Linked DNA regions of Homo sapiens: regions 1 and 2 are each linked to region 3. The links are contacts of gene promoters, found by promoter capture Hi-C in blood cells and fetal thymus (Javierre and others, 2016). All regions are on one chromosome and are shown on one strand. The core of a region is centred on a gene start or on the middle of the fragment in contact, and the rest is flanking DNA. Distances in the headings are between cores, read along the strand shown.

Evidence for each region. The method cuts DNA at HindIII sites, captures the fragments that hold promoters and counts their contacts. A CHiCAGO score of 5 or more calls a contact.
Region 1: a fragment that was not itself captured here is called in contact with the fragment with the promoter of LINC01949 in region 3 in 3 of 17 cell types (M0 macrophages, M2 macrophages and M1 macrophages); the score reaches 9.7 in M0 macrophages.
Region 2: a fragment that was not itself captured here is called in contact with the fragment with the promoter of LINC01949 in region 3 in 1 of 17 cell types (M0 macrophages); the score reaches 6.6 in M0 macrophages.

The regions. Positions count from the first base shown.
Region 1 is chr5:87,180,640-87,184,121 of GRCh38, reverse strand. All of the region lies in intron 2 of LOC101929380 (a long non-coding RNA gene), which reads right to left. Among named protein-coding and RNA genes, the nearest start is that of LINC01949, 57 kb to the left of the region's middle. The HindIII fragment of the contact is 721 bases long and covers 1,089-1,809 here.
Region 2 is chr5:87,274,224-87,277,836 of GRCh38, reverse strand. The region is part of intron 1 of RASA1 (RAS p21 protein activator 1); the gene reads right to left. Among named protein-coding and RNA genes, the nearest start is that of RASA1, 8.1 kb to the right of the region's middle. The HindIII fragment of the contact is 892 bases long and covers 997-1,888 here.
Region 3 is chr5:87,237,309-87,241,229 of GRCh38, reverse strand. It overlaps LINC01949 (long intergenic non-protein coding RNA 1949), which reads left to right and starts at 2,029. Exons shown (of 3, transcript NR_130914.1): 1 at 2,029-2,164; 2 at 2,249-2,415. The region is part of intron 2 of LOC101929380 (a long non-coding RNA gene); the gene reads right to left. The HindIII fragment of the contact is 4,009 bases long and covers 1-2,271 here.

The sequences.
Region 1 (3,482 bases), core at 200-2,699, 57 kb after region 3:
TCTTCTGTCTTAGAGAGTAGTGTTGCAAGATTTCCTTTCTTGTTGGGATAACAGAAGGCAGTAGGAATGAATGGAAATTGGGGTTACAATACATCATGATTTCTTGTGATGAAAGAAAAGCAGTGAACATCTTTGGGTCTCCATTTCTTTAACTTTAACATGGGGAGATGGACTCAATTTGTAAATTATATGATCTGTCACTCGGGTTCATCGTGTTCTCCCCTTGTAGTGCAATAGGAATAGGGACCCACTGACTTTTCTTTCTTGCTAATGGTTGTTTTCTTTGGGGCAGCTGGATGAAGGACACAAAGGGAAAGAGAGGGTTTTCTTGTGAACTGACAATTTAGAGAGACTTTGATGGAGAGGAAGGATAAAAACACAGCTTTTAACACAAATTTGTGGCTAAGAGGTGCTCCTGCTTTTGAAAGCCAATTATAGTGATAAAAGAGGGAAAGGGATGAAGGTGAATAGTGAAAGGGCAGGATACCAAGTGTGTTATTCTACCAATGAGGTATGACACCTGAGAAATGGTCAAGTATTCATTGAAGCAATTCTAGGCAATGGAAAAAAAATGGAAGGCTTCTTGCTTTTCGAATATACAGAACAAAGAGGTTTACCCTGGAAATTTTTGGTAAGAGTCAAAAATTTTAGGCAGGATATTATTTTCTGACCTCCTCTCCTGATAATCTCTGACTTACTCATCTCAACATCAGCACCCTTTTGTTATTCTCAAACATGCCAGGAAAGCTTCACCCTGGGGCTTTGGGACTGTTTTTTTCCTTTCAGGGACTGCTCTTCCCCAGATATTCTTGTGAGCAACTCCCTCACCCTTCAAGTCTTTGCTCAAAAGTCATTTTCCCATTGAGACCTTCCCATTAGATGATGCAGCCAGTCTCCTTCCACTCCAGCTGATGATCCCTTCCCCCAAACCCTCCTCATCCCCTTTACTCTGATGTACTCCTTTTTTTCCCATAGCACTTATGATCTTCTAATACATGGCACATTTCAGTTATTTTCATTATTTATTATTTATGATCTCTTGCTTCCTTCCATCACCCTCCTTCTATTCCCAGAAGGAACACTAAGCTTCAAAAGGGCAAGGATTTTTTTTTCCTAATGTGCCCAAAATAACTAGTACAGTGTCTGACATGTGAAAGGTACAAAGGGTACTCAATTAGCATTTGTTAAATGAATAAATGAAGGCTTATGCAATCCATATGTACGAGAAGTACACATCAGCTAAGGAATGCAATAGAGAGATTTATATACGTCTGCTTTTCCTGTAGCTAGTAGGTACAGATACAGGAAGCAATATAGACTAAAGGTTTGTTTCGTTTCCTGGGAGAAAAACTACCTAGAAACGAATCCTTTTACTACCAAGTGCACTGTGTTTTCTTACATTAATAATAATTTGGTTTAGGGTGATGCTTCAGAGGTTTTTTCAGAGCCCTGTGTTATATGTTAGCTCATTTTAATCCCTATTTTACAATAAGAAAACCAAAGCTCAGAGAGGCAAAAACTCCTGTGCAACAAATGTGACCTCACAGAAGGGTACTCAGGCTTTCTGATTCCACAGCTTTCCCGTAACACAGAGAAGATATAAGGACTATGCCATTTAAAGGACAAGAGACAAAAAGATGGTTGTGTGTGTGTGTGTGTGTGTGTAAAATGGATGCAGAGTGTGATGTCTGCTCATAGACCAAGAGCAGAGCACAAGAACAGAGACAAATTGCTAGAGACAAAGGAGAGCACTGCCATTTACAGTGACCTACATTTATTGTTCAATATTCAAAACATGTTTTAAAAGCTTAAAATATCTAAAATATTTTCATACTGTTCATTTATGCCACAAAATTTATACTCTGTAAGGGGGTTTATTATTATTTTCTCTGTTTCTTGTAACTATAACCCATTTGAAACATTAACAACACTGGAATCTTGTCATTATTTCCAACAGTTTTCAGCTCTGTAGCCATGAATTTTCAATATCAGACAGCAGTTTTTGCTCTTTGTTAACATGTATTTATCACATATTTTATTTCTGGGATACACAGCTGTTCACTGTAAAACTATTCTTTTAAGTGTCAGCCTTCAATCATTTAGCCATTTCATTTCTATTTTTCCCCCTAGCAGCTGTTCTATTGATTGTCTAGAAATTGTTCATTCTATGTTTAAAATTATAACAGGAAGTGCAAAATTAAAAGGTTACATGTAAAAAAAGGATGCTGGAGTCATAAGAACACGAGCGCAGCTGTGCGCTTCCAAGAAACTGATATATATATATATCAGTTTGTGTGGAATATATATATACATATATTCCACGCACACACACACATACACACACACCATACACACATACACACACACACCATACACACACACACACAATACACACACACACACATTGGAAATGCATATGTACAGACATTAATATTGACTTTATTGAAATAATTCAGGAAAAATATCAAGTATATTAGGTGAATACCACATGCTAGTTATTTTGCTGAATGCTGAGGCACTGTTTCAGGAAGTTGGTATAATACTTATTATCCTTATTTTGGCTGGGCACTGTGGTTCACGCCTGTAATACCAGCACTTTGGGAGGCCGAGGTGAGTGGATCACCTGAGGTCAGGAGTTTGAGACCAGCCTGGCCAACATGGTGAAACTCTGTCTCTACTAAAAATACAAAAATTAGTTGGGCGTGGTGGTGGACACCTGTAATCCCAACTACTGGGGAGGCTGAGGCATGAGAATCGCTTGAACCCTGGAGGCGGAGGTTGCAGTGAGCCGAGATCACGCCACTGCACTCCAGCCTGGGTGACAGAGTGAGACTCCATCTCAGAAAATATATATATATATGTATACTATTGTCCTTATTTTATGGATGAGGAAACTGAGGTTCAGGGAAGCTAAGTAATCTGTTCAAGTTTCCACAGTGAGTATGTTGCAGAGATGAAGTTGGAATTAAGTTTTGTCCTGATTTCAAAAGGTTTGTTTCTCCTCCCCTTAATCTCTTTTTTCCTGAGCTATTTCAGACATATAAGAACTATACAGAGAAAATGAAAATGAAAATGTATGTACTTATTATAATTTAGCTTAAGAAGCAGAACATGGTAAACATAATTGGACCCCTAATTATATCTCCCAATCCCATTCCCTTGCTTTTCCTTCTGAATCCTGAATTTGTGTTTATCATTCCCATTTACATTTTTATATGTTTACTACATATATATGTGTCTCAAAGCAAAATTTAGTGTTGCCATGTTTTGAAATTTTATATACTGTTGTGAAAATTTACATTTTCACTCAACATTATTTTCATTGCTTTATTTCAGTTTTTTGTTTGAATATAACACAATGTTTTGATTCATCTTATGTTTATAGATGTTTAGGTTGTCTCTAACTTTTTTTTGCCCAGGCTGTTACCCAGGTTGTTGCCCAGGCTGGAGTGCAGTGACGCGATCATGGCTCACTGCAACCT
Region 2 (3,613 bases), core at 193-2,692, 37 kb before region 3:
AAAGGTCACTGACTAACAAAGAAAGAGGTAAAGTAAGGCAAGATTTTCTCTCCCACAGTGAAAGAAATTAAAAGAATGAGGACCTTATTTCTCAAGCAGCAGACATGCATTTAATCTGTTCCAAAATAATCCAAATCCATTTTTAAAGATGTAGAGTTACCCATGTATTAGTCAGTTTGGGCTGCTATGACGAAATACCAGAGTCTGGGTGGCTTAAACAACAGAAATTATTTTTTCACAGTTCTGCATGCTGGAAATTGAACTATCAAAGTGCTGGCAAGCTTGGTTTCTGGTCAGGCCTCTCTCCTTAGCTGACAAATGAAGGCCTCCTCACCATGTCCTCACATGACCTTTTCTTGATGCACTCATACTCCTGGTACCTCTTCTTATAAAGGTACCCGTCCTATAGGATTCACCAGCCACCCTTATGACCTCATTTAACCTTAATTACCTCTTTTAAAGGCTGTATCTCCAAATTCAGTTACATTGGTGGTTAAGGCTTCAACCTATGACTATGGGGGACAGGGGGGAACTATTAAGTCCAAAATGCCAGTTACTGCCAGCCCTGAAGTACGTTAAGTTTTATCTGGGTGCATATATGTGTGTACATTCTACGTAATGGAAAGGGGCAAGACAAAATAAAAAGCATAGTATTTACATTAAAATTCCAGCTCTATCACTCAGTTTCCTCAACAATGAGGATGATGCCCATTCTCACTATATCATTGTAAGAATTAAATAAGATAATCTATATAAAGTACCTGACATCTAGCAAATGATTAGCAAATACTGAGCCTTTGCTTCTAGTCCTCTCTAAAATTTAAAAAAAAATGAATTATAAATATTACTCAAATCTAAATATATGTGAAACAGTATGAGAATCGGATTCTGTCCCAGTTCTACCACTACCTAGTTATATGAACTTAGCTAGGGTGTAGGGTGGAGTGAAGCAAGTCACTCTACCTAAGGCTACTTCTGTATCTAAGCAGAGAAGCTTCCCTCTGTAACTAAAACTCTATGTTACACATAACAACTTGACTACAATTTGAAACACAAATGTTACAAAAGTTAATCACACTTTCTCACTGTAATAATCCTAAATGAATGATACTGAAATTTCCTTCAAGAGAATTATGGTATGAAATTTCAGTATCATTCTTTCATTTACTTTCATTCTTTCACTCTTTGGCAACTATCCTCTGAATTTGAAAAATTTACCTGCACAACGTATCTGTAGACTACTTTTATCATCTTATTTCCCTACCAGTAATGCCTCATCTTCCAACTAGACTGTAGAATTGTATATTTCTTTTTGTCCCCCATACTGTTCATTATTTTACTCACTAAATCACATAACCACTAAAACACCTAAAATCATCATACCCTAAATCCTGTAGAGATGTGACAAGACATACATAGTTATCAATAAGTTGTATCTAATAACAACAATTTTTAACGCAGCACAAAACTGAAATGTACTGCCAGTGATTTCAAGGTAACACAGAAATACCTGCATATTCAAACAATAAACAACATCCGTATTCAGTATTTTTGGTTTAAAATTAAGGTAATGGTAGCCAAAAAGCAACATCTATTGTGGAGAAATTTGACTCATTTAACAAAAGACAACTTAGCTTGCTGGGCCTGAAGGAAGAACTCATAAGTATTTGTCCTATCTCCCAGCCTGTCCCTCACTACTAGTATTCTATTATCTCGTATTACATGAAAATAAGTAATACACATGGTACTGTTACTTTGATGCCCTGAGGAAAGCTCAACTTGCTGTATTCATGCCATTTTATAGTCCCCTCCCATATTTAATGCACACTGGGTTATGTGACCAGCACTCACCATTGGAACATTAGCAAGGATGAGGAACACAGAAGCTTGATAAATACCGGCACACTAGGGCTTGGAAAGGTCTTTCACGGAACTGCCATAGCTGCCATGCTATGAAGAAGGCCAAGCTGGCTGGGCACAGTGGCTCATGCCTGTAATCGCAGCACTTTGGGAGGCCAAGGTGGCAGATCACGAGGTCAGGAGTTCGAGACCAGCCTGGCCAACATGGTGAAACCCCATCTCCATGAAAAATACAAAAATTAGCTGGACGTGGTGGCACGCACCTGTAATGCCAGCTACTTGGGAGGCTGAGACAGGAGAAATGCTTGAACCCGGAAGGCGGAGGTTGCAGTGAGCCATACCACTGCACTCCAGCCTGGGCGACAGGGCAAGACTCCATCTCAGGGGGGAAAAAAAAAAAGAAGGCCAACCTTCTTCAAGTGGAGAGACGACATGGGTAGGAAGAGAGAGGGAAATGCCCAGCCATCTACCAGCTGCTCCAGCCATCCCAGTTGAGGCACTAGATTTATGAGTTAAGAAGCCACAGTGGACATTATAGCCAACAGATCACATGTGGAGAAGTCACCATAAAGCCATACACAAATTTTAGAATCAAGGGCAAATACACAATTGTTTTAGCCACTATGTTTTGGAGTGCTTTATTATGCAGCAATAGATAACCAAAACAATACAAATAAACCAATTAGAACTGTTCCTGTTTGGCAGTAAGCAACAACAACAAAAAATGTCAGTGGTAACCATTGTTATAGTTAATAATCACTATAAAAAATCTTCTTCCCAAAAGGTACTTTTCTGGGTATTTAAGTGTTCTTAAAGGGACTCTGTTCATTTCACCAATGGCCAGTAAAGAGAGAGAAGTAAAGCAACCAGAAAGTCTACTCTTCGTTTTTCCTTTTCCCTTCCTAATTTATGGCTGTCCTTTTTAGCTTTGCCAGTAATGTTTGCCTGTTTTCCCCAGAGTGGCTAATCAATGATCCATACCGATTCTAGCATTCAACTGTGCTCTGTACCTCAGTCACTACAGACATCACCGTCAACTTCCCTCCAGACCACAGGTAACTAAAAGTTCTGTAGACCAGACTCTTCACTAAGGGTGAAAAGTTTAAACTCATCTAATTCATAATTATGTTTTCCTGATAGAATCATTAAGCGAAGAGCATCAGAACCAATAACCTCTTGCTCAGAAAATAAATTAAGTAGCAGGAAAAACATACCTGCTATTTTTCCTCAAAGAATTTACTGATCCTAATTACACAAATTTCTTTTTCTTTTAACCCTCATGACCTTTGCTCATACTTCACTCGTGATATTTATCTTAACCTAGCCTGAATCACAGTAATTGGTTTACTTAATTTCCTACTAGATCTAATACTCCCTTTTCTCCCATTGAGAAAAGGGGCATTTTACTCTTGCAACCCTTGAAGCACCTACTATATTTCTCTGCTACTTATACAAATACAGTAAAAAATATGAGTTCTGGTCATCAATCATTGTCCGTAACTAATCTTAGCAAGTCTCACCCCCATTTTTATTAAGAAACAATGGCTCACCCATATGTATAATGCAATCAGTGACAAAGTTAATGAATGCTACATGTTCTAACATTAACCTTCACCAATTATTTGACTTAATAAGAATGATTTTATTTTTGTAGAGACAGTAAAATGATTTTTTTAAAAAAGAAAGGTACTATTTACATTCCTTATTTTCTTTTCCTTAAAGTTTCAGACTTGAGAAGTCTGAATATTAGGTT
Region 3 (3,921 bases), core at 780-3,279:
GTGAGATTTTGTCTCATAATAGTAATAATCTCAAAAGACTGAAATTATATCAGGTGCTCAGATAATGTTACTTTGTTATAATGTTGATGGGAAAAAAAATTAATTCATGGTTGAGGCTAATGTCTTTGTGAAATTTGCACCTTTTCCCCATGTCTGTGTGGATTTTCTCCAGGTACTCCAGTTTCTTCCCACATCCTGAAGATGTGTATTTCAGGTGGGTGGGCATGTGTCAGCGATCTCAGTCAAGGTGAGTGTGGGTATATGTATGAGTGTGCCCTGTGTTGGGATGGTGTCATGGCCAGGGTTGCTTCCCACCTTGTATCCTGAACTGCTGAATGGGCTTTGGCCTCCTGTAACCTGAACTGGAGTAAGTGGGTTGGAAAATGAAAGAATAAATGAATACAAATTATTATAAGATAAAATATAAAGTATTTGATAATCATACAAATGCAAAATAATAAGAAATGTTGTATGAAAGTGCTTAGAGAGTCTGCCTTATTGAATATTGTTTGTTTTTGAACTGTGTGTTGGTAGGAGGTACTCCTGACAATTTTCACTTTACAAACATTTATTTCTTGATTTAACCTACCACCAGGATGACGGCTGTCACTCACTGATTCACCAAAAATTGGACAAATTGCTTACTTATTTTTGTTGATTTTTCTTAAATGTATGTATAGCTTACATTTATATCAATATTCAACATTAGAAGTGTTTCAAGTCTTCACTTAGAAATTTGTTGATGTTTTTGTGATACAAATATGCCATAGGAACTAATTCTTGTTTATATTAATTAGCCTATAGTAAAACTGGTTTTGTTACATGGCATCTCACTTGAAGTTGAAGTTTCCAAGACCCTATCAACAACGTTGAGAACTTACTGTCATAGGTTGAAAAACTGTACACCAGGAACCGGACCAAAATAGATCTGACAGTAATATTGATATTAGAAAACAACTTTAAGTCTAATAATGATTTTTCTCTAAAGAGGTTGATTACTTCATGATAGAAGGATCATGTCACCATGATGACACAGACTGTTAGTGCACATCAATATCCATTTTGTCCTCTTCTTTTTTGGCATACAACCAAAACTTACATAGGCTTTTTATCATTTTACTGGGCCTATGTAACTGAGTTTTAGCCAGTGGAATATGTCCAAGTGACATTTGCCACTTCTAGGTCTGGCACATTAACACTTGATGTATTACATTTCAGACCCTCTTATCATTCTGCAGTGTGTTTGGCGATCTGTTGTTTAAGATCTATATGCACTGGTTACTGTTGCTTGCCTTCCATTCCTACCCTTACTAATCAGATTCCTATTATAGCTACTTCTGTCCTTGATTCATTTTGTATATTAGATGTGTGTGTGTTCATGTGCATGCATGCACCCTCACATGTAGGTGTATATGGGAGTGGTGGTAAAGACAGGATATTTCTTCAGTTCATGGGATTTTATTTCAGGAGAATTCAAACATTCACGTATTGGAGAAGATGACACATTTCTTGAATGTCTTGGGCTTTGAGCTGAATGCACTAACTAGAAGGGACTTCAGATTGTCCTCCTTCGGGGGAGGTAAGTATATTCTTCATATACAGGTAAGAGTGAAATGATAGAAGAATGTTCCTCCTCTCCTTTTCTTCCTGGACAACAGATCAAATATTTCTCAGATCTTTTACAGCTGAATTGGAGTCACATGGACAGGTATGATCTTAAAATATAAAAAATTATTTTAAAATTACATGCTAAAATTTTATAAAAATAAATGCTAAAACTAACTTAAACGGAAGCATTTGATTAAAAAATTTATCCAAAAAAGTTTGAATTTTATATGAAACAGGATAGAAGATGAAAAAGCTAAAGAAATAAAATATAAATAAATTATGGCTGGGGACAGTGGCTCACACCTGTAATCCCAGCACTTTGGGAGGCTGAGGTGGGAGGACTGATTGAGGCTAGGAGTTTGAGACCTGTTATTTGAGGCACATGGGAAGGAAAGTTTTCTTTGAGATATTCCACATTTTATAATATTCTTCAAGAGATTTACAGAGTTCCTTGAGTGAATTGTTGGTTTGTTCTTAATACTGAATTTCCTATTCAAATTTATTTAGAAGTTCATTTCTTACAGTGATCTCATCTCCTATTAAGATATTCTTCAAGGTAGGTTCTTGGCCAGTTTCTCAATGACAGATTTTTAAAAATATTGTTAATCTTTTTATTAATATGAGAACATAATTGTTCCAGATCTGGAGGCCATCCTTTAAGCTTCTTGCAACAGTCTGGGAGCAAAGAGTTTACTCGCCACTGGGTAGTGGGCCATGGACACCCCAGTCTCCACCAGAAGTTCGGGATTGCAAAATGGGACTCTGGCAGCAAATTTCAAACTGTATGCCAGACCTGGCCCTTTGCAGGTGGGCATCACTAAAAATTTAAATTACCAAAATTGACTCAAGAGTAAATCTATGTCTGAGGAGAAAGCCTTTGGAAAAATTGAATTAGTAAGCAAAAACCTACCCAAAATAAATAACAGTAAGTCTAGAAAATTTTACACAGGGATTACCAACAAACATTCAAAGCACAGAAAAATCTCTTTAGCACAAAATGCTACAAAATACAGAAAAAGAGGAAAATTCTGTAGTTTCTCTCATGAAGTTAATATATTCTAGTTAGCTGAACTAGAAAAATAAGAGAAAGAAAAATTATAGGTTAATCTTCCTTATGAGTACATGCAAGTATCATAAGATGTTGACAAATTGAATCAAGCATTTTAAAAAATGCATTATGATCAAATATGATTTATCCTAGAAATAATGTATGAGAGTTATAAAATTCCCATTAACATTAGGAACAAGCATTAATACTTATTATCTCCACCAATAATCATCATTGCTCTGGAGTTCCTAACCAATGAAATAAGAAAGAAATAACCAGTTATATGGATTAGGGAAGATCAAATATTGATTATTTGAATATTTTTTTTTATAGAAAATCCAATAATTGTACAGCTGAAGAACTGGAATAGGAGAGTTAAGCAAAGTTTCTACATACAAGAGCAAAGTGGTCAAATCAATAGGTTATCTGTAGGCCAGTGCTAATTACATTGACATGGTGGCCTTAAAATTTTTACATGCAATTCATAAATCAGTTTCACTGATATTACTTTACCAGATATTGATATTCTAATGTTGTAATTATACAACTGTATTATTGTGTCAGAAATAAAATTAATAGACCAACAAAACAAAACTCAGAACAGATTCACATATTTGATAACTTGGTGTATGACAAGTGTGACATTAAAATTCAGGAGTAAAATAAAAAAATAACAAATAATGCCGGGATAATTGGTTAGTCACATGGGAAAAAGTCAGAAAGATCTCTGCCTCACTCTATTTACATGGAATATACTTCAGATGAAAGAAACTTAAATACAAAGAGCAAAACTTTAAGACTTTTAGAAAAAGATAGGAGAATTTATGACTTCCAGTAAGGAAAGCTTTCTTAAGCTAGATGCAATGGCATAAACGACAAAATGCATTTTTTTTATAACATTAAATAAAACATGTGTTCCGTAAAAGACACCAAAATACAATTAAGAGATAAGTTACAGTGTCTTAGTCCATTCTGGCTGTATAAAAAAATACCATAGACTGAGTGGCTTAAACAACATTTATTTCTCATAGTTTCTGGAGGCTGAGCAGTCCCAGTCAAAGAGAGCCCACTTTCTAGTTTATAGACCACCATCTTCTCACTATGTCCTCACATGGCAGAAAAACAAGATGGCTCTCTGGAGTACTTTTTACAAGAGCACTAATCCTATTTATGAGGGATTCACCCTCATGATATAATCACTTTCCAATGGCCTCAGATCCAAATACTATCACTTTGGAAGGCAGGATGGGGGTGGGAGGATTGGA